Regions from separate parts of the Homo sapiens genome. Here all the other regions are linked to region 6. The links are contacts of gene promoters, found by promoter capture Hi-C in human tissues and cell types (Jung and others, 2019). All regions are on one chromosome and are shown on one strand. The core of a region is centred on a gene start or on the middle of the fragment in contact, and the rest is flanking DNA. Distances in the headings are between cores, read along the strand shown. Region 1 holds the start of FGFR3 (fibroblast growth factor receptor 3). Region 2 holds the start of IDUA (alpha-L-iduronidase). Region 3 overlaps SLBP (stem-loop histone mRNA binding protein). Region 4 overlaps FAM53A (family with sequence similarity 53 member A). Region 5 overlaps GAK (cyclin G associated kinase). Region 6 holds the start of UVSSA (UV stimulated scaffold protein A). Region 7 overlaps LOC105374343 (a long non-coding RNA gene).

Evidence for each region. The method cuts DNA at HindIII sites, captures the fragments that hold promoters and counts their contacts. A contact is called where the count stands out against the background at its distance.
Region 1: the fragment with the promoter of FGFR3 here is called in contact with the fragment with the promoter of UVSSA in region 6 in 1 of the 25 tissues and cell types used here (liver).
Region 2: a contact is called between the fragment with the promoter of IDUA here and the fragment with the promoter of UVSSA in region 6, in 1 of the 25 tissues and cell types used here (dorsolateral prefrontal cortex).
Region 3: a fragment that was not itself captured here is called in contact with the fragment with the promoter of UVSSA in region 6 in 1 of the 25 tissues and cell types used here (lymphoblastoid cells).
Region 4: a contact is called between a fragment that was not itself captured here and the fragment with the promoter of UVSSA in region 6, in 4 of the 25 tissues and cell types used here (H1 embryonic stem cells, dorsolateral prefrontal cortex, lymphoblastoid cells and 1 more).
Region 5: a contact is called between a fragment that was not itself captured here and the fragment with the promoter of UVSSA in region 6, in 1 of the 25 tissues and cell types used here (H1 embryonic stem cells).
Region 7: a contact is called between a fragment that was not itself captured here and the fragment with the promoter of UVSSA in region 6, in 2 of the 25 tissues and cell types used here (aorta and spleen).

The regions. Positions count from the first base shown.
Region 1 is chr4:1,791,936-1,794,635 of GRCh38, forward strand. It overlaps FGFR3 (fibroblast growth factor receptor 3), which reads left to right and starts at 1,358. Exons shown (of 18, transcript NM_000142.5): 1 at 1,358-1,530; 2 at 1,898-2,108. The coding sequence starts at 2,000. RefSeq lists silencers at 1,176-1,415, 1,466-1,615. The HindIII fragment of the contact is 26,733 bases long and covers 1-2,700 here.
Region 2 is chr4:985,692-988,466 of GRCh38, forward strand. IDUA (alpha-L-iduronidase) reads left to right here and starts at 1,353. Exons shown (of 14, transcript NM_000203.5): 1 at 1,353-1,551; 2 at 2,118-2,258. The coding sequence starts at 1,394. SLC26A1 (solute carrier family 26 member 1) reads right to left here. Exons shown (of 3, transcript NM_022042.4): 3 at 1,966-2,775. RefSeq lists an enhancer at 940-999 and silencers at 1,210-1,859, 1,642-1,819. The HindIII fragment of the contact is 27,782 bases long and covers 1-2,775 here.
Region 3 is chr4:1,702,130-1,704,829 of GRCh38, forward strand. SLBP (stem-loop histone mRNA binding protein) reads right to left here. Exons shown (of 8, transcript NM_006527.4): 3 at 1,467-1,571. Among named protein-coding and RNA genes, the nearest start is that of SLBP, 8.8 kb to the right of the region's middle. The HindIII fragment of the contact is 4,119 bases long and covers 1-2,700 here.
Region 4 is chr4:1,649,019-1,651,718 of GRCh38, forward strand. All of the region lies in intron 4 of FAM53A (family with sequence similarity 53 member A), which reads right to left. Among named protein-coding and RNA genes, the nearest start is that of FAM53A, 34 kb to the right of the region's middle. The HindIII fragment of the contact is 7,179 bases long and covers 1-2,700 here.
Region 5 is chr4:910,849-913,548 of GRCh38, forward strand. It overlaps GAK (cyclin G associated kinase), which reads right to left. Exons shown (of 28, transcript NM_005255.4): 3 at 1,887-1,946; 4 at 825-939. Among named protein-coding and RNA genes, the nearest start is that of GAK, 20 kb to the right of the region's middle. RefSeq lists enhancers at 1,041-1,946, 1,947-2,700 and a silencer at 1,697-1,855. The HindIII fragment of the contact is 5,304 bases long and covers 1-2,700 here.
Region 6 is chr4:1,345,877-1,348,576 of GRCh38, forward strand. UVSSA (UV stimulated scaffold protein A) reads left to right here and starts at 1,332. Exons shown (of 14, transcript NM_020894.4): 1 at 1,332-1,884; 2 at 2,214-2,313. The coding sequence starts at 2,216. RefSeq lists enhancers at 1-95, 1,941-2,020 and silencers at 391-480, 701-1,030, 1,271-1,710. The HindIII fragment of the contact is 13,201 bases long and covers 1-2,700 here.
Region 7 is chr4:1,040,208-1,042,907 of GRCh38, forward strand. The region is part of intron 1 of LOC105374343 (a long non-coding RNA gene); the gene reads left to right. Among named protein-coding and RNA genes, the nearest start is that of FGFRL1, 30 kb to the left of the region's middle. RefSeq lists silencers at 1,133-1,331, 1,712-1,893. The HindIII fragment of the contact is 9,265 bases long and covers 1-2,700 here.

The DNA.
Region 1 (2,700 bases), core at 108-2,607, 450 kb after region 6:
GGGAGCGGACCTGGCTGGCAGTGACCTGGGGCTGTGCACTGGAGGGGGCTGGACAGTGCACTTGGAGGTGGGTGAGCCTGGGCCCCAAGACGGTCTGGGGACATGGGCTTGGCCAGAGCAGGAAATGAGGGTGGCCAAGGACAGGTGCTGAGCCACCGAGTCGGCACAGAGGGGTGGGCATGAGGGCTTCCTGGGAGCAGGGCCCTTCCAAGTCCCTGAGGTCAGCCCAGGGACACCCTGGCCTCTGGGAGATTCATGGTGGGGCTGTGCATGGGCTGGGTGGGGTCAGCAGGCAGCCAGTCACTGAGGGGCTTTCAGCGCCCATTTTCCTGATGAGCACCTCCAGTCCTGGAAGCCACAAGCCAGGCACGCAGCCCACCCGGCCGGCCCTCCCGGCCAGCTCACTGGCTCCCATGGGCCCCGGACCTCCTTGGGCTTTGCCTGAAGGTGGGAGCAGATGGCCTTTTCCTTGTGAGGGTGGACACAGAAGCCAACAGTCATGTGGGGTGAGGGGACCCAGGCACCTCCAGCGTCCCCCGCAGGGCAGCACCTTCCCCTCCTGGGAACCCACCCCTCTTCAGCTGGACTCTGAGCCCACCCCGTGGAGCCCAGAACCTCGGGCCAGCTCAGGCTCTGCCACCAGCTCTCTGTCATCCTCCCTCAGAGCCGGGCTGTGCTCCCCAAGCCAGGGGTATCCAGCCCCCGCTCTTCATCCTAGGCCGGGCAGGCAGCCAGCCCCAGGCCTGTGTCCTCCTTGGGGGGCGGGGGGTAGGGACCCCTCGCGCGGGGCTCTCAGGCGGCTTAGCTGCGTGCGGCCCCAGGTCAGTCAACGCAGCCTCTGCACCTCGCCGGTCAGGTACGCAGGCCGCGCCGGGCTGCCCCAGACCTGCGGCGCACACGGGAGGCTCAGCCTGGAATGCCGTCCTGCCCTCCTCCACCTGAGGAATTGCCGCTCACACCACAGGGTTCAGCTCCGCGGCATCTCGGCGAAGCCTCCTGACATCCCGACCCCCGCCGAGACCTCCCCTCTGAGCTCCTGAGCACAGCCCCAGGGGACCCGAGCTGCGCGCTATGCAAACACAGGCCTGCCCTCGCCCTCGGTGCGCCCCGTGCCCGCCGCCCCCTGGGCCGCCCCGCGGTGCGACTAGGGGCCTAGCCCGCCTGCCCCGGCTCCCACGCCCTCGAGACCGCCGGGCGCCCCCGCCCGGCCACGCCCCCTCGGATGCCCCGCTCCGCCCCGAGGGGGCGTGCCCTGCGCCCCCGCGAGCCGGGCGGGGACCGGGCGGGAGCGGGGCGGGGCCGGGGCGGGGCGCGGACCGTCCCCCACTGGCTGCGGCGCGCGGGGCAGCCCAGGCTCAGTGCGCGGTGGCGGCGGCGTCGCGGGCAGCTGGCGCCGCGCGGTCCTGCTCTGCCGGTCGCACGGACGCACCGGCGGGCCGCCGGCCGGAGGGACGGGGCGGGAGCTGGGCCCGCGGACAGCGAGCCGGAGCGGGAGCCGCGCGTAGCGAGCCGGGCTCCGGCGCTCGCCAGGTCCGTGCTTGGGGCCGGGCAGGCTCGCGGAGGGGTCCAACGGTGCTCGCGGAGGGGTCGGGGCGCGGCTGTCGCGGAACCACAGAGGTCCCTGCAGCGGGCCGGGCCGGGGCGCGGGCTTCCCGCTCCGGAAAGTTTGCCGCCGCCGCCGCCCTGGGAGGGCTTTGCAGCAGCCAGGGAGGGAAGGGGGAGGAGGGAGGGACCGCGGCGGGGAGGAGGCGGCCGGCGCCAGGCGGCCCGGGAGCCCTGGGCGGCGGCGGCGGCGGGCGGGGCGGCTGGGGGTCGGAGGGGTCGGGACGCAGGAGCCGGCCACCGCCGCTTTCGTCCCTGTCCGCCCCTCTAACGAGCTGCCTTCCTCCTCCTGTAGTCTCCCGAGCGGCGCCCGCCTCCCGCCGGTGCCCGCGCCGGGCCGTGGGGGGCAGCATGCCCGCGCGCGCTGCCTGAGGACGCCGCGGCCCCCGCCCCCGCCATGGGCGCCCCTGCCTGCGCCCTCGCGCTCTGCGTGGCCGTGGCCATCGTGGCCGGCGCCTCCTCGGAGTCCTTGGGGACGGAGCAGCGCGTCGTGGGGCGAGCGGCAGGTAAGAAGGGACCCACTAGGCACGGGAGAGGCCGGCCCGTGCGGGCAGAGGCGTTGGGGACGGGAACCGGCCCCGGGTCGGAGGGGCCGCCGGGTGTGAGTGACGCCCCGGGGTTAGAGCCCGGATTCCGCTGCCTCCTTGCCGGAGAGCGCGGCCAGAGCTAGCGCGGCGACTTGTGGTGCGCCCGGAGCCGCAGCTACCCTCCAAGTGCGAGGCCACCACGGGGAGCCAGGCTGGGGGTTGGCGTCCGCAGCCCCGATCCCCTGCGACTCCCTAGCCCTGGCCTGTCGGGAGGGCGCGGGGGGCCCCATTTCCACGATTCCCGCTGTTGTTATTCGGGTTCTGCGCAGACGGAAAGTTCCCATTGTTGGCGTCCCCCTCCCCCGGGCCCCAGTTTGTGGCCAGCTTCGGCCAAGGCGAGAGACCGGACTTCTAAGGGTGGGTGTGCGCGTCAGCGAAGCCCGGCCCCTGCCCGCCCGAAGAGGCAGCAGCCTCCAGCGTCCCCGCTGCCGACCCTGCCCCTGCCTGGGGGCCGAGGGCGCTTCCCCGTGGGTGCGCGCCGAGCTCCAGGCAAGCGAGGGGCGCGTGTCCC
Region 2 (2,775 bases), core at 103-2,602, 360 kb before region 6:
ATTATGTTTTTCCTCCTTGCTAATTTGGAATATATACACACTATTTCACTTTTAAATGGCTAATCACTTTTAATGCAATTTCAACATAAGAAGACCTAATGTTAAGCAATATTTTAACCCCTCTCCCCAAAATAAAAAGACCCAGAACACTGTAACTCTAATTATCCTTCTCCCAACTTAGAGAGGATTATTGTCCAGTATTTTCGTTTTGTTAGTAGACTGTTCTTTTTTTCTTTTCTTTTTTTAGAGATGGGGTCTCATTTTGTCAACCAGGCTGGAATGTAGTGGTGTGATCATGGCCCGTCTCAGCCTTGAACTCCTAAGCTCAAGCAATCTCCCACCTCAATTTCGTGGGTAGCTGGGCCTCACAGGCATATACCATCGCATCTGGCTAAATTTTTTTTTTGTACAGATGGGGTCTTGGTACATCTCCCAGGCCGATTTCAAACTCCAGGCCTCAAGTGATCCTCCCGTGTTGGCCTGCAATTCCAAAGTGCTGGGATTGCAGGTGTGAGCCACCGCACCAAGCCTGTTCTTTCCATTATTATTTTTATACAATGTTTGCTTGGATTCACACATGCATACATGGACTACACATGTACTACAGTTGTCCCATGGTATCCTCGGGGTATTGGTTCCAGGACCCTCCCAGATACCAAAATTTGCAGGTGCTCAAGTACTTGATATAAAATGGCACAGTATTTGCACATTACCTACGCACATCCTACTGTGTAGTTTAAATCAAGATTACTTATAGTCCCTAAAACAATGTAAATGCTCTGTAAATAGCTGTTATACTGTATTGTTTTAAAATATGTATTATTTCGTATTGCTTTGGCTTTAAAACAATATTTTCAGTCTGCTTGGTTGAATCCATGGATCTGAAGCCAAGTGTAAGGAGGGCCCAGTGTGCTCTTCTGGGGTAATTCTCCTTCCTGCTAAAGCGCACGCTTTACTCAGGAGGCTGGGGTGAGAAAATCGCTGAAGCCCCGGAGATGGAGGTTGCAGTGAGCTGAGATCGCGCCACTGCACCTCAGCCTGGGCGACAAAGCAAGACTCTGTCTCAAAAACACACAAAAACAGAGAAAAACAAGACAGTAATGGCTCAACTCACATAGCACCAACGGGCGAAGCGTTCTTCTGAGCGCTTTCCGAGTCATCGGTCCTCAGAGCAGCCCCTGAGGCCCGCAAGGAAGCGGGGCTCCAAGCCCTGCCGTGCTCCCGGCTCCCCGAGGCTCCCCGAGGCCACCCAACCCCTCCCACCCGGCCATCGCCCCCTCACCAAGGCCCCGCCCCGCGGCGGCGGTCACATGGGGTGCGCGCCCAGACTCCGACCCGGAGGCGGAACCGGCAGTGCAGCCCGAAGCCCCGCAGTCCCCGAGCACGCGTGGCCATGCGTCCCCTGCGCCCCCGCGCCGCGCTGCTGGCGCTCCTGGCCTCGCTCCTGGCCGCGCCCCCGGTGGCCCCGGCCGAGGCCCCGCACCTGGTGCATGTGGACGCGGCCCGCGCGCTGTGGCCCCTGCGGCGCTTCTGGAGGAGCACAGGCTTCTGGTGAGCGCTCCGCGGCCTCCGGGACCCCCTGGCCGCACGGGGAGAGCTCGGGCGCCCCCTGACTGCGCACTGTGAGAGCTTCAGAGACCGGAGCTCCCTCCTCTGGGGCCCTGGCTCTCCCGGGCCCGCCCCCCGCCGTGTTTGTGGGTGGGTCCTCCACCTGAGTGGGCGCCGGGGCGTGAGCCTGGGCCGCCCCCTGCAGCCCAGGCCGATGCCCGGGATCCTGCTCTTTGAGGTAAACCAGGAGTCTCCCCTGGGAGTGGACGGCCCTGCAGCGGGACCTGGCCTGCCTGTCCCATTCCTTCCACCTAGAGCTGAGGTACCCGCCTTCCTGGCAGGGCCAGGGCCAGGGCTGGCGTTGGCCCCTCGTCTTACTGCTGCTGCCGTTCCCCATGAAGATGGGACCTCCCCACATTCCTGGCCCTAAGGGTCATTTTATTAGTCACTGAACGCACGGGCAGCGCCTGGATCCTGCGCCCGGGCAGTCCTGGGCTTGAACGTGTGTGTCAGCCGCGCTGCCAGCCATGCTGAGGCTCGGGACTGAGCCGCCCCTTTGTTGTCCCCAGCCCCCCGCTGCCACACAGCCAGGCTGACCAGTACGTCCTCAGCTGGGACCAGCAGCTCAACCTCGCCTATGTGGGCGCCGTCCCTCACCGCGGCATCAAGCAGGTCCGGACCCACTGGCTGCTGGAGCTTGTCACCACCAGGTGGGCGGCGGGCAGGGTCTGGGCGTCCCAGAGCCCCTTACAGAGGCACAGATGGGAGGGGAGGGCTGGGGGCTGCTCGGAAGACCCCTTGTTCCCCCACCTCCCGCCGAAGCACCCTGTTGGGGAGAGCGTGTCCTTGCTGGCTGTGCTGGGGTGAGGGCTGTGTGCTGGAGGGAGCCCCTGCATGGGGCACGGTGGGCTTCCTGCAGGTCTCCCTGCAGGCTCAGGGTTGGCTGCGCCGCACCTGGCTCCTGGTGCACCCGTGAGCATCCCTGTGTGTGTCTGCTGGCCAGGCTGGGTAGGGCCACTGCACCTGAGGGCTGAGCTGAGGTCTCATCGGTCACAGCACCCTGGGCCCTGACGCTGGTGCAGGTGGCCACCCTGTGAGGGGGAGGCACGAGGTGTGAGGGGCACTTGGGTGTGTGGGGCCTTCTGGAAACACAGAGACCCTCGTGCACTTGGCCAGAGCCGCTGGCTCCTACCAGCAGGGTGGGCACCGGGCAGGCCTGGGCATAGG
Region 3 (2,700 bases), core at 7-2,506, 360 kb after region 6:
GCAACTAGGCTATCGGTATGCAAGAACTGTTCTAAGACTTGTGCATGCAACACAAACTATACAAGTCAAGTCAAACATTCTAATTTTATAATTGAGGAAGTCAAGACCTATATAAATGCAATAATTCACTAAAAACACTGGTACTCTCATCTGTGAACTCCTAGTTCATTTCTTCTACCAAGGCATACATCCACCCACACATTTTGATACCAGAAGAAATGACAAATAACTCCCCCAAATGTTCAATAACCAATTCCCACATATTCCCGTCCCTTTTCAAAGGAGGCTGATATAAATACCATCACTGGCTGCCAAAATGAAAACAGGTAGTCTAGGTATCGTTCCGCGGCTGACACGCAAGACACATTTTTCTTGAGACCCTGTTTATCAGCCACTTGTTGGCTAAAATTATCTTGTAAAATACTTCAACCAATTATGAGCCACATTTTAACTGGGTTTGAATAAACCCAGTCCTTGCAACTGGGTTTGAGTTAGACAACTCATCAAAAGAGAAAGGATCAACACACTGATAATCAAGGGAGATTAAACATGGTTAAGGATGCATTAGGTAATGAGTCAACGAAGACGAAGTAGCTTAGTTTGCAAGAACTTGGATACACACAACAATCTTGTGTGCAACTGCAAGAGGTTCACAGAATCCAAGTTTGAGACCTTTCCTTGTATGTTGGCATTTCTGAGCTGTTTGTTGCCTAAGCCAAGTGTCAATGTATTCCTTCATCTGGAGAGAGCACTCCATCTACTGTGCTGGGTTGTGTGAGCACCGCACACAGAAGGTCGGTGGTAACAAATGACTATAGTAAGTTCCTGATAGTTAGGCCGGGCACAGTGACTCATGCCTGTAATCCCAGCACTTTGGGAGGCCGAGGTGGGCGGATCAGGAGTTCAAGACCAGCCTGACAAACATAGTGAAACCCCATCTCTACAAAAAATACAAAAATTAGCCAGGCGTGGTGGCCTGTGCCTGTAATCTCAGCTACTCAGGAGGCTGAGGCAAGAGAATCGCTTGAACCCGGGAGGCAGAGGTTGCAGTGAGCCGAGATCTTGTCACTGTACTCCAGCCCGGGCAACAGAGCGAGACTGTCTCAAAAAAAAAAAAAAAAAAAGAAAGTTAGTTCTGATAGTCCTCCAGCCTGCAATCCAGCAGTAACACCATTGTGCACCTACTTCCACTCTTGGAAGGATTACCACCAAGAGGACAGTGGTCTTCAAGCTTGAAAGAGTGGACCCGCCTGGAGGGCTTTTCACAGGATGGCCAGGCCCCACCCCATTCGCAGGCCCAGGGAAGGGTCTGAGAATCTGTATTTCTAACAAGTTCCCAGGAAATGTTGATGCCTTTGGTCTGGAGCCCAGACCTTTGAAAACCACTGTTCTAAGACAAATATCAAATTTAATGTGTTACTGAAAACGCCACAGATTAACACTTCAAGGTGGTCCAAAATGTGTACCTTGCCATTTCTTTGTTAACTCTGGTCCTCATTTCATCTTCTTCAACTGCACTTGCCCAGTCAGAGCATCTGGAACGGGGTTTAGGGCCTTCAGGAGTGGTAAAGCTGCAATAAAAGGAAAATGCTACTGAACCATGACACATACTTTGTTTTCTTTCAAACTGTATGTCAAGAAATATTCAAAGGCTGGTGGGACACAGTGGCTTGTGCCTGTAATACCAGCACTTTGGAAACTGAGGTAGGAGGATCACTTGAACCCAGGAGTTCAAGACCAGCATGGGCAAGATAGTGAGACCTCATCTCTGTCCCCCACCCAAAAAAATAAAAGCATTATATCAGTGAACTATGTGTATCAAACCATACTAAACTGGAGTTTAGCAGGACAAAAGCAAACTAGATGTAGAACATAACCTATCAGCTGCATCTGTCTATCCAGGGCTGTCTTACTAGAGCAGAAGTCATGGAGCTCCTTGGCAGTGTGCCCACTGTGTTTGGGGGTCTAATAAAACCAACTAGATTTTAGACTTCAAACTAAATTATGATTCCTTTTGGGTGTCCACACTTCAGTAGTCCAGGGCTATCATATGGCTGAAATCAACTTATTTCGTTCATCTCTGGTATGTGTTTATAAAGTCATTAAGATGGGAGATTTGCTTCAAATTTTTGCAGTGTGTGTGGCAGTCAGAAAAACCCATATCTAGTTTTCAGCTTCAGTTCTGGCATTTCTATGGGTTAACCTTATCTCATTGATCCAACATCCGGCCTGATGCTGGAGCTTATGAAGTTGACTCTAAGAAGTTCAGAGAGTGTAGAGTTTCCCATCTTGTATTTAATTTGTCTCTATGCCATTAGTCCCAGCTTGAAGTCATTACCAATGTCAATGTTGACAGGATTGTGACAATATTGCCTTTCATAAAACCGACCACCAAAGAATTCCATTATTCTAACAAAGCCCGAGTTTCACAGATCGCGGGCACATCTAGACAGATGTGTGCATGCTTGACGGTGCAGAGCAACTACTCACTTCCAGCAACCTCGTGCTTCCCCTGGCTGGCCATACAGAGGGATTCGCTGTCATACTGAGAAGGCTCTGCAAGGTAAGTCTCTAATTGAGGCTATCTCAGGTGGGTGTTTCCGCTGTGTAGTCCCAAGCCTGTATCCATATAATAAAAGTGCAGGTCTGGCATTCCTCCAGGTTATCTGGCCAGTGTAGACTCCTCCATCTGAATATGAA
Region 4 (2,700 bases), core at 24-2,523, 300 kb after region 6:
AGGAGAATCTCTGGAATCTGGGAGGCAGAGGTTGCACTGAGCTGAGATCATGCCACTGCAGTCCAGCGTGGGCAACAAGAGCAAAACAGAAAGGGAAAGGGAAGAGGAAGGGGAAGGGGAAGGGGAAAGGGAAGGGGAAAGGGAAGGGGAAAGGGAAAGGGAAGGGGAAGGGGAAGGGGAAAGGGAAAGGGAAGGGGAAGGGGAAGAGGAGGGGAGGAAAGAAAAGGAAAGAGAAAGAAAGAAGGAAACAAGGGAACAAAGAAAGCTCTGCACCTGCCTATCCTCTCTGTAAGCCCCCTACCTGTCTGTGGCCAACCAAAGTCCAGCACAAGGGGTGGGAGGCACCAGAGCCAGCATCAATGCTAACACCATTCCACAAGCACCGTTTCTGACCGACACTCCTTACGGAGAAGAGCGGTTTTGAAATCACTCCCTTCAAAAAGTGGAGCCCGATCCTCCTCCCACTGAGTAAGGGCTAGACAGAGTTAAGGAGCAGACGAAATCTCAGCTGGTGAGGACCAGGTCACACAGGGCTCTGTGGGGCCCGCTCATGCCCACTGGGGTCACTCATTATGGGAAATCAAGCTGCCACATCGTGAACACACTCAGGCTGCCCCTCAGGGAGGCCCATGTGGCAAAGAAATGAGGCCTCCTGCCAAAAGCCACATGGGTGAACTTAGAAGCAGGTCCTGCAGCCCCAGTCAAGCCTCCAGGTAACCACAACCTGGCTGACTGAGCTCCAAGGAGGCCTGAGCAGAGCCTCCCCATCGGCCTCCGGGACCCCTGAGGTGGCTCAGGCATGGTGTTTGTGAGGTGGCTCAGGTGTGGTGTTTGACAGTGAGGTGGCACAGGCGTGGTGTTTGTGAGGTGGCACAGGCGTGGCGTTTGACTGTGAGGTGGCACAGGCGTGGCGTTTGACTGTGAGGTGGCACAGGCGTGGCGTTTGACTGTGAGGTGGCACAGGCGTGGCGTTTGACTGTGAGGTGGCACAGGCGTGGCGTTTGACTGTGAGGTGGCACAGGCGTGGCGTTTGACTGTGAGGTGGCACAGGCGTGGTGTTTGTGAGGTGGCACAGGCGTGGCGTTTGACTGTGAGGTGGCACAGTCATGGTGTTTGACTGTGAGGTGGCACAGGCGTGGTGTTTGTGAGGTGGCACAGGCGTGGCGTTTGACTGTGAGGTGGCACAGGCGTGACATTTGACTGTGAGGTGGCACAGGCGTGGCGTTTGACTGTGAGGTGGCAAAGGCGTGGCGTTTGACTGTGAGGTGGCACAGGCGTGGTGTTTGTGAGGTGGCACAGGCATAGTGTTTGACTGTGAGGTGGCACAGGCGTGGTGTTTGACTGTGAGGTGGCACAGGTGTGGTGTTTGTGAGGTGGCATAGGCGTGGTGTTTGACTGTGAGGTGGCACAGGTGTGGTGTTTGACTGTGAGGTGGCACAGGCGTGGTGGTTTTTGGTTTTGATTTTGGTTTTTTCTGTTGTTTTTGTTTTTGTTTTGAGACAGAGTCTCACTCTGTCGCCCAGGCTGGAGTGCAGTGGCGTGATCTCAGTTCACCGCAACCTCCGCCTCCAGGTTCAAGCGATTCTCCTGACTCAGCCTCCCAAGTAGCTAGGACTACAGGCGCCCACCATCATGCCCAGCAAATTTTTGTATTTTTAGTAGAGGCGGGGTTTCACCATGTTGGCCAGGCTGGTCTCGAACTCCTGACCTCAAATGATCCACCCGCCTCAGCCTCCCAAGGTGCTGGGATTACAGGCGTGAGCCAGTACACCCGGCGGGTTTTGTTTTTTTTTTAACACAGGTGTGAAGTTTGAAGCTGCTGGATTCAGGCTTGCTTGTCCCAAGAAGAGGACTAGGACAGTGCTCACGCATCTTCATTGCAGAGAATTCACTCGGGCATTGATATCAAGATTGAGCTGGCTAGATGCAGTGGCTCACGCCTGTAATCCCAGCACTTTGGGAGGCCGAGGCGGGTGGATCACGAGGTGAGGAGTTCGAGACCAGCCTGGCCAACGTGGTGAAACCCCGTCTGTACTAAAAATACAAAAATTAGCTGGGCGTGATGGTGGGCACCTATAATCCCAGCTACTCGGGAAGCTGAGGCAGGAGAATCCCTTGGACCCAGGAGGCAGAGGTTGCAGTGAGCCAAGATCACACCATTGTTCCATTGCTCACCAGCCTGGGACAGAGCGAGACTCCATCTCGAAAAAAAAAAAAAAAAATTAAGAGAGGGCCGGGCACGGTGGCTCACATCTGTAATCCCAGCAATTTGGGAGGCCGAGGCAGGCGGATCACCTGAGGTCAGAAGTTCAAGACCAGCCTGGACAACATGGTAAAATCCTATCTCTATTAAAAATACAAATATTAGCCAAGCGTGGTGGTGCATGCCTGCAACCCCAGCTACTCGGGAGGCTGAGGCAGGAGAATTGCTTGAGTCCGGGAAGTGGAGGTTGCAGTGACCGGAGATCGTGCCACTGCATTCCAGCCTGGGCAAAAAGAGCGAAATTCTGTCTTAAAAAAAAAAAAAAAGATGGAGATTAGAGGCAACAAAGCCAACTAGGATGATGTCTCAGTAGCCGAAGAGGGTATCAAGGCCTGAGGCAGAATAACCGGGGTCAAGAGGAAGGAGGACTGAATCACAGAAACATCCAGAGGACGGGACACCAGCCTGGGTGACCAGCGCTTGCATGGACAGGGACA
Region 5 (2,700 bases), core at 115-2,614, 430 kb before region 6:
GGCACAGGAGTTCTGGAGGGCATCGGCACGAGGCAGGGCTGGGGGTGGAGCCGCCCTCTGAGGCACAGGTCTTGTTTCCCCTTTGCAGACACAGCCTGAGGCTCAGCAGGGTCAGGCCAGGTCTCCGGCCAGTCAGCGTGGGCTCCGGTGACACCAACACGACATCCCCCGCAGTCACTCACACAGACCACTCTGCCCCTAGAACTCTCCGAAAGCACCACCCCAACCCACCGGCCTCTCTTCCTGTCCTGACAAACGGACCATGGAGTCGTTGTGCCATCTTCCTGGGCTCAACCCTGATGAGGCTGGGCACCCACAGAGGGACCTGGAGTTGTCCACCTCTGCGGCCTCTCTTCTCCTTGCCAGGACCCCAGAGCCCCTGACAAGGACGGACAGCAGCACTCCTCCACCCTGCTCAACACCGCTCATGGAAGGCCACCACGCTCCACCCCACAGGGACCCCAGAGCCCTGAGAAGGACAGACGCTCCTCCACCCCTGCTAAACACCACTCACGGAAGGCCACCACGCTCTACCCCGTGCTGCCACTGGAGACAGGCAGGATGGGAGCCCGGCTCTCTGGCTGCCCGCAGCTCCACGAGGAGACGATGCAGGTGGCCCACCGGGACAGTGGGAAGCTCACTGGGCGTCAGCGTGGGCCTCTCACAGAACTACTGTCAGAGAGCTGCCCGCGCTTCCCGCTAAGACCAACACAGCTTGAGAGAAGATGCCGGGCATGTTTCACAGCCATGCAGCTGGGTTAGGAGGCATCAAGCCGGCCTCTGCTGGGTTAGATGGCACCAAGCCGGCCTTCACAGGACGTTACCTTTACAGAGCTCTGTGAGCAAGAGGAACTCAGCCTGCCCCGTGTCTGACTCCTCTTTTCCTATAGACGCTGCAGAACAAAACTGGACAATGTTCGGGTGGCCGGAAAGCTTTTTCTGCAGTTGTCTTGTTAAAGGAGAACGTACATAACCATGTCCACAGTTCTGTGCACTTCAAAATAAATGTAGACAATATTAACACACTGAAGTCAGAATACTTGAATCGAACCCTTACAATTTTAGACGTCAGAGCGGAAGATGAGGGAGAGAGCAGTGGACGACCGAGAGAAAGGCAGACAGAGGCAGGAGGAGCTGCAGGAGAGGGCGGGGACAAAGGCAGGCACACCGGCCACACACACCTGACCACAGCGACACCAAAGTCCATCCCGCGCGTGGCAGGAGGAGGCAGGGCCCTCAGGGGGCTGTGCGCAGGGAGGCTGCGGCGTGGCTGTGTCCACCCGAACCCACACTCAGGCAGCCGGCGGGCTCTCCGAGTGAACAGAGCTAGGAGAGGAAAGAGAGGCAGAGTCTGAGGGCAGCCAGGGCCGAAGACTCCAGGCTCAGGAGGGACATGTGGCAGTGGACAGGGAGTGCAGCCCCCAGATCCTCTGTCAGCGCCGGGAGATGCCCCGCCCAGTCATGCTGGGACAGCCTGAGAAGGGACGAGAGGGGCGGCTGAGAAGCCACATCGGGGCCTGTGGGAGCCAGGCCATCTGCACGGCTCTCAGCCAGGTCTCCGGAGGAGCTGAGGGGGCCGGGCCGGGCAAGGGCCCCCTGTGGTAACCAGCCCATCCACTGGGCAGGGAGACCTCTTGGGTAGGAACAACTTCATTCCCAACACTTCTGAATCTTCTACTATTACCCTGGCAGTAAAAAAAAAACAGAAAAAACTGCTTCTTCCTAGAAGTCGCCTACAACTAGGTTTGGTAAAAGCAAAAAGCCGATTTTAACACATGAAAGACAACGTCACGGAGCAGCCTCTTGGCCACTGGCGGTCACAGCTTGACGCAGGCCTGTGCCTGCCAAAGCCACCGTGCTGGCTCCTGGTTCCAGGAAAAGGATACCATGAAGCAAACTTCTTGAATGATGGCTCTGTTCTTTTCCTCTTCATTGGATAATAGCCTCTGTATCAGGAAACAGCACACACAAAAGATGAAAGCAAGTTTACCTTCCTACTCCACCCGATGCATCATCTCAGACATAAGCACGCAACAGAGCAATGCAATGTGTCTAATACAGCTCCCCCCGTTTCGTGTGTCTCCACCTCTGACCCCTGTAAAAACGTGCTGGGGGTTCAAGACCCTCAAAAGATCTTTGTGATGCAAGGACACAAGAAAAGTCAAAAGCAGGAGCCTTTCCCCAAATGGGCCAGAGTAAAATGAGACAGACAAGAAGGAAGAGCGGCAATGCTCTGCAGACACGGGGGCAGCAGGCGTGCAGACCACGACAACAGGCCCACTCATGCCCACTCTCAAAGGCGGGGCCACCCTGGTGCCCAGCGTGGTGACAGCAAATGGGGCCTTCTTACGTCTCAGGACAAAACTGCACAGTACAGACCCTCCCACAGTGACCCCTATTTACAGAAATGCTAGCAACAAATATTTTTTACAAGCAGCTTTTAAACTCCTTGTATTCATAGAGCCCTTATTTTGGCACATGGAGGCCAAGAGGGCATGACCCCACCATGAGGTCACCCCCAGCACAGCCCCTGCCACAGGGCAGGCAGGGCCACAGGAGTGTGAAGCCCAAAGCTGGAGACCAAGGCTCCTGCAGTGCCCAAGGCTGCTGAGATTCAGCAGAAGCAAAAGGGACAAGTATGTCCAGGCTGTAAAAGGAAACAAAGTACGTAACAGGGACGCATCCCTGAAAAGACTGTCA
Region 6 (2,700 bases), core at 82-2,581:
AAAAAAACCACGCTGTAGAAGACAGAGGGAAACTGCTGGATGGGTGCCTTGGAGGAAGCCACAGGCCGGGGATTGGATGCACAGGGCAAGGGGCGCTGAGGGAGGGTCTGGCTGCAGCTTGCTCAGTGAAGCAAGAGGCAGGGTGAGGAAGGGGTGAGGCGGAGGAGCGGCTCGGGGCTGGCTGCAAGCTAGGAGCTGGGAGCCACTGACGCCCAGGGACAGAAGCTGGTGCTGCAGAGAGGGGCGGCGCAGGGAGTCCCTCTTCTTTTCCTTTTTAAAATAATTGCTTTACTGAGATATAACTCACACATCCTGAAACCCACCCTGTAAAAACACGATTAACAGAGTTGTGAGCTACCACCACCGTAATGCAAGGGCACGCCCATCCCCCCGAAAAAGAAACCCCGGCCCGCCGCCGGCGGCCCCCGCCCTGCACCCAGCCCCGGGAGCCCAGTCGGGCGTCTGCTCTGCGTGGCCTGTGCCGGGCGCCCCGCGAGTGGGGTCCACACCACGCTCCTCCGAAGCCACGGTTTCCCAAGCGCGGTCTCCAGGTCCGTCCGTCCGCAGCCGACCTCGCACTCCCCTGCGTTCGAGGCTGCGGACTTCGGCGGCAGGACGGACGGCGCCTCTGCTTCTCATTCCGCCCAGGGCCAGCCCGGGCCCAGGGGTACCTGCTGTGCGTCTGGCGCCGAGGTGGGCCCCGAAGACCCCCAAGCCCGCCCAGGGATTCCCTTCCCGAGGCCGGAGCGGGGAGGCGCCGCGGGGTTCAGGGCGCCCTGCGCGGGGCGAGCTCGGGGGCGGGGGCCCGCGCCCGCCCGTCTGGGCGGTCCTCACCGGCCCTCTGCAGGTGAAGGGACCTGGCTGCGAGCCCGCGGGCGGGCGTGGCGTTGAGGCCCAGACCGGAACTTCCTTTCGGCCTCAGTTTCCCGGCCGGCCCCGCCCCCGGCGCCCGTACATGCGGCCCCTTTAAGGACTTTCTGCGCCCTCCCGCCTCTTTTTTCTCGTGCGTCCCCCTCCCCACCCCCGGCAGCCTGCCTCGCCCTCGCCGGGAGCGCGCCTACGTCACCGCGCAGACCTCGGCCGCGTCTTTGCGCCTGCGCCTCCTGGGCTGGGGTGAGCCATTGGCTGTCGAGCTCAGGGCACGTGCTAGGGGGCGGGGCCTTGACCGGAAAGGGTGGGGCAACGGCGAGAAAGGCCGCGTCGAGCGGTAGGTGCAGTCGTCGCTGTGGTGACCCCAGGTCCTGATGCGTCCGGCCCAGGGCCAGCCAATGGCGGTAGAGGTCTTGGGCACCTGACAAGAGGGGCGGTCCCCCCGCCGGAAGGGGCGGGGCGAGGCGAGCGGCCGCGTCAGCGGTAGGTGGGGCTGTGGTTACGCTGCCGGGCGGGGGTCGCGCCGGTTCGGTCCCCGGGGCTCTGCGGGCGCCGGGCAGAGACCTGCGGCCAGGGCGTGTCCCGTGTGCCCGAGAGCGCCGGCGGCGGGGCCGGAGGGCGGGCCCTGGGCCGAGTGACAGGCCGCAGCCCCCCGAGCACCGTCGAAGCCGGCGCGCCCGCCCGGTGCAGCCGCTGTGCGAGAGCGACCCCGCGGTCCAAGCCTCGCGTGGCCCTGCCGGGCCCCTTCTTTCCCCGAGTAGGGCGCAGCTTCCCAGCCTCCGCCCCGGCCTCGCCTGGCGCTTCCTTCCGGGTCCTTCGGCCTTTCCCTGGCGGTGCGGCAGGCCCTCGCCTCATCCCACCAGGCACGCCGCGGTGCTCGGCCCTGGGTATCCGGGCAGGCTGCCTCCGTTAGGGCCGCCCCTGCTCTCCGGACGCGACTTTTCATTGGTCTCAGAATTTCTTGGCTCCTCTTGGCCTCTGCAGCCTTGCTGGAGGCTGCCCTGCGGAATCTGAGTGAATAAGGGAAACAGCAACAGTCACGTTGGGGAAAAGCTGATTCGGACAGCGCCACTGGTTCCTTTAACGCACGACCCTCAATGCAGCGTCCCACACACGGGATTGTAGAGGTCCCGAGTTTAAGGTTCACTTTTAAAACTGCAATCACCGCCGTAAAGGCCTTGCTGGACACACATATTTCCCAGAGAGGCACCCACAGATGGACCCCAGCCTCAGGGTCCTCCCGGAGCTTTCGGTTTATAGTGGAACCCAGTAAACACGTTAATAACACCGAGAGCTATAAAATACAGATGGTGATATAGCATCTCTGCCTTACTTATTTCTAGATATGGATCAGAAACTTTCGAAGTTGGTAGAAGAGCTCACAACTTCAGGAGAACCCCGACTAAATCCTGAGAAAATGAAGGAACTGAAGAAAATTTGCAAGTATGTCTTAGGGTTCAGTAACAGTAACTGACTGGCCCACTGAGCCCAGGACACACACAGGGCCCTGCCCTCCTGCCCCCACCTGGGAGAGAACCACCCGAGGGACACACCCAGGACATTTTCTCGGGGCCCTGCAGTACCCGGCTCTGACGGGTGGTCATGTTCTGGGGTCGGGGCGTGTGGCGTTGGGGACCCCACTGCTCTGTGGTTGGTGCTTCTCTTCATTCCCATTTGTGTGGTCTGGAGCACATCCTGTAGGAGTTCTTGAGTGCACAAATGTGATTCAGAGAGAAACGTGCATCTTTTTCTTTGCTGCTGGACTTTTCGAAGGGAAAGAATAGAGCTTGCTGATGGGCGAGTTGGTCCATCGCCTTTAGGGTATGTCCA
Region 7 (2,700 bases), core at 42-2,541, 310 kb before region 6:
CGCTCCCTCAGGCACCTCCCCAGCCTGGCAGGGCCTCACTGGCAGGAGGCGAGGGAGCCCGGTGCAGACACAGGCTTCCGGGCTCTGAGTCCTGACTTGGGTCTGAGGCTTCACGATCCCTTTTCTGCAAAGGTGTCACCTGGTGCTGTAGTTGTGTGTGGGGCTGGGGTTTCGTGTGTGTGTGTGTACATGTGCATGAGTGGGGATGTACACGTGTACTGGGGTTTCCATGCACGTGCGTCTGTGCACACTTGAGCAAGTGCACATGTGGGTGCTCTGTGTGTGTGCATGGCGTGTGCGTTCGTGTGTGTGTGTGTGTGTGGATGGCGTGTGTGTTCTCGTGTGTGTGTCCCTCACTTCCCTACTGCCTAGGGTCAGGGCAGTGCTCAGGGTCCTAGCACCCCTTGAACAATGGGGTGACCAGGACTGCAGAGGGGCACGTGGCAAGGGGGTCCCAGGCTGCCTCCGTCTGTCCACCCAGGCAGGGTGGGCTGCGGAGGGTGCTGGCAGGCAGGCTCCTGGTTGGCCTAGTGCCCCTGGGGAGCAGGCTCAGAGGTGCCGTGCACTCTTCCCACTGTGCTAAAGCTTTGGGGCCTGTAAGGATGTTCCTGCCATGCCAGGCCCCTCCCCAAGCTGGGGTCAGGGCCCGTGCCCACTGCCCGGCACAGGCCTCCCGCTGGCTGGCTGCTCTCCTTGGAGGGCAGAGAGCATTCTTCAGAGTGGCATGGTTGCCAGACCAAATGACAAAAGTGCCCACTGGGTAGACCGGAGACCCCAGGCTGGCAGCCCGGCTGCACCCCCAGTTTCACAGGAGGCACTTTAACGCCAAAAACATCTGGAAATTGTTCCAAGGACTGGATTCCAGCCTTCGCCTTTGGAAGCTCAGCTGCCCCTGTGGAGGGTGGGAGGGCCGCTGGTTCCACAGGGCTGGAGCTGGGGCCATGAGTTCCATGAGCAATTCGGCCTCATGGGTGGCAGGCCCACGGCCACCGCAGGGCTGGCGGCACCCGCTCCCCTCCTGCTGCTCCCGCCTGCTGGCGCTGGCCACTCGAGCCGCCGTGCCTCTGAGTGTGGCCCCTCCGATGGCCAGTCTTGAGGTGGTGAGGGTGGTCATTCTAGAACTGTGTGTGCATGTGTGTGTGTCGGTGCACATGTGTGCATGTAGGTGTGTGTGTGTGTGTGCTTAGCTGAGGCTGCACCCCCCGGGGGGAGGCGCTGGCGAGTGCACACACACACACACACACACACACACCCCTGCATGTGTGTGCTGGCGCCTGTCAGCTCCTCCCCCGGAGGTGCAGCCTCAGCTAAGCCACCTCCCCCAGCCCCACCGGAGCAGGCGAGGAGCCACGGAGGGACCTCAGGGGGTGACCCCAGCCCCTGGGGGTCATGTGAATGGGGCTCCACCCAGGCCAGGAATCCGGCAGCACTTTTGTTCCTTTTCACAAAAGGCGAGCACGACGCCCCGTCTTGCTCACCGCTCAGTGAGCGTTACAAACGTTTGCCAACACGCACCTCCCTCTGCGCTGCCTGGCTGCAGCCAGCCAGGAGTGTCCGTCGGCTTCCACAGCTCCACTCTGCAAAGAAAACAAACCCAACAGCAAGGATGTTCTCCTTGAATGCTCTGGGCCGTGCTCTCGAATCAGCAGCCAGCCTGTCCTCAAAGGGGTCTTGGCTCAGAAACATCCTATCGTGCATCGTTTTCTGCCAAGTTTCAGTCTAAGATGTAAAAGTGGAGAAACCAGAAGCACTGCAAGTGAAAATAGAATAAAGGGAGACATCCCGTGTGGGAGCAAAGTAAGAGAAGCAACCAGCACAGCGGGCAGGAGGGACACTGGTGCCGCCACACCCGAAGGAGCCGGGTATCCACACTCCCGCAAGCCCTACCTCCCCTGGGGGCCCCCACCCACCAGGCCACACTCCCCTGCTGGCAGGAAACATGGAGTCAGGACCAAGTCACCTGCACCTGGGGCCATAAGGAGCTGAGCAGCCACCAAAGACCACCGTCCTCCAAACCGTTCTCCAAGTCCAGGGTCCTGCTGCTCTCCTCAACTCCCTCAGCCTCCCCAAATACTGAGTCTGAGAGTGCCCCCCAGCAGGGACTGGGCAGAAGTTTACACACACACACACAGACACACCCACCCCCACACACCAACACACAGACAAATATACACCCACCCCCACCCAACCCCCACCAACCCACTTCCACACCTACACCCACACATGCACACACGCACATCTACACATGCACACCCACACACACACCGACACACACACCGACACACACACCTCCACATACACCCCCGCACACTGACACACCCACACACACACCGACACACACACCTCCACAAACACACCCCCCGCACACTGACACACACCCACCCCCACACACTGACACATCCACCCCCCACACCGACACACACCTACAGTGACACCCGCACACTGACACACACCCACTCCTGCACACTGACACCCACTCCTGCACACTGACACACACCCCCGCACAGACACACACCCACCCCCGCACACCGATACACACACCTACCCACACACCCACCCCACACACCAACACACACCCACCCATCCCCGCACACCGACACACAACCCACCCCCGCACACTGACACACACCCACCCACTCACCTCTGCACACTGACACACACCCACCCCACCGACACACACCCCTGCACACTGACACACCC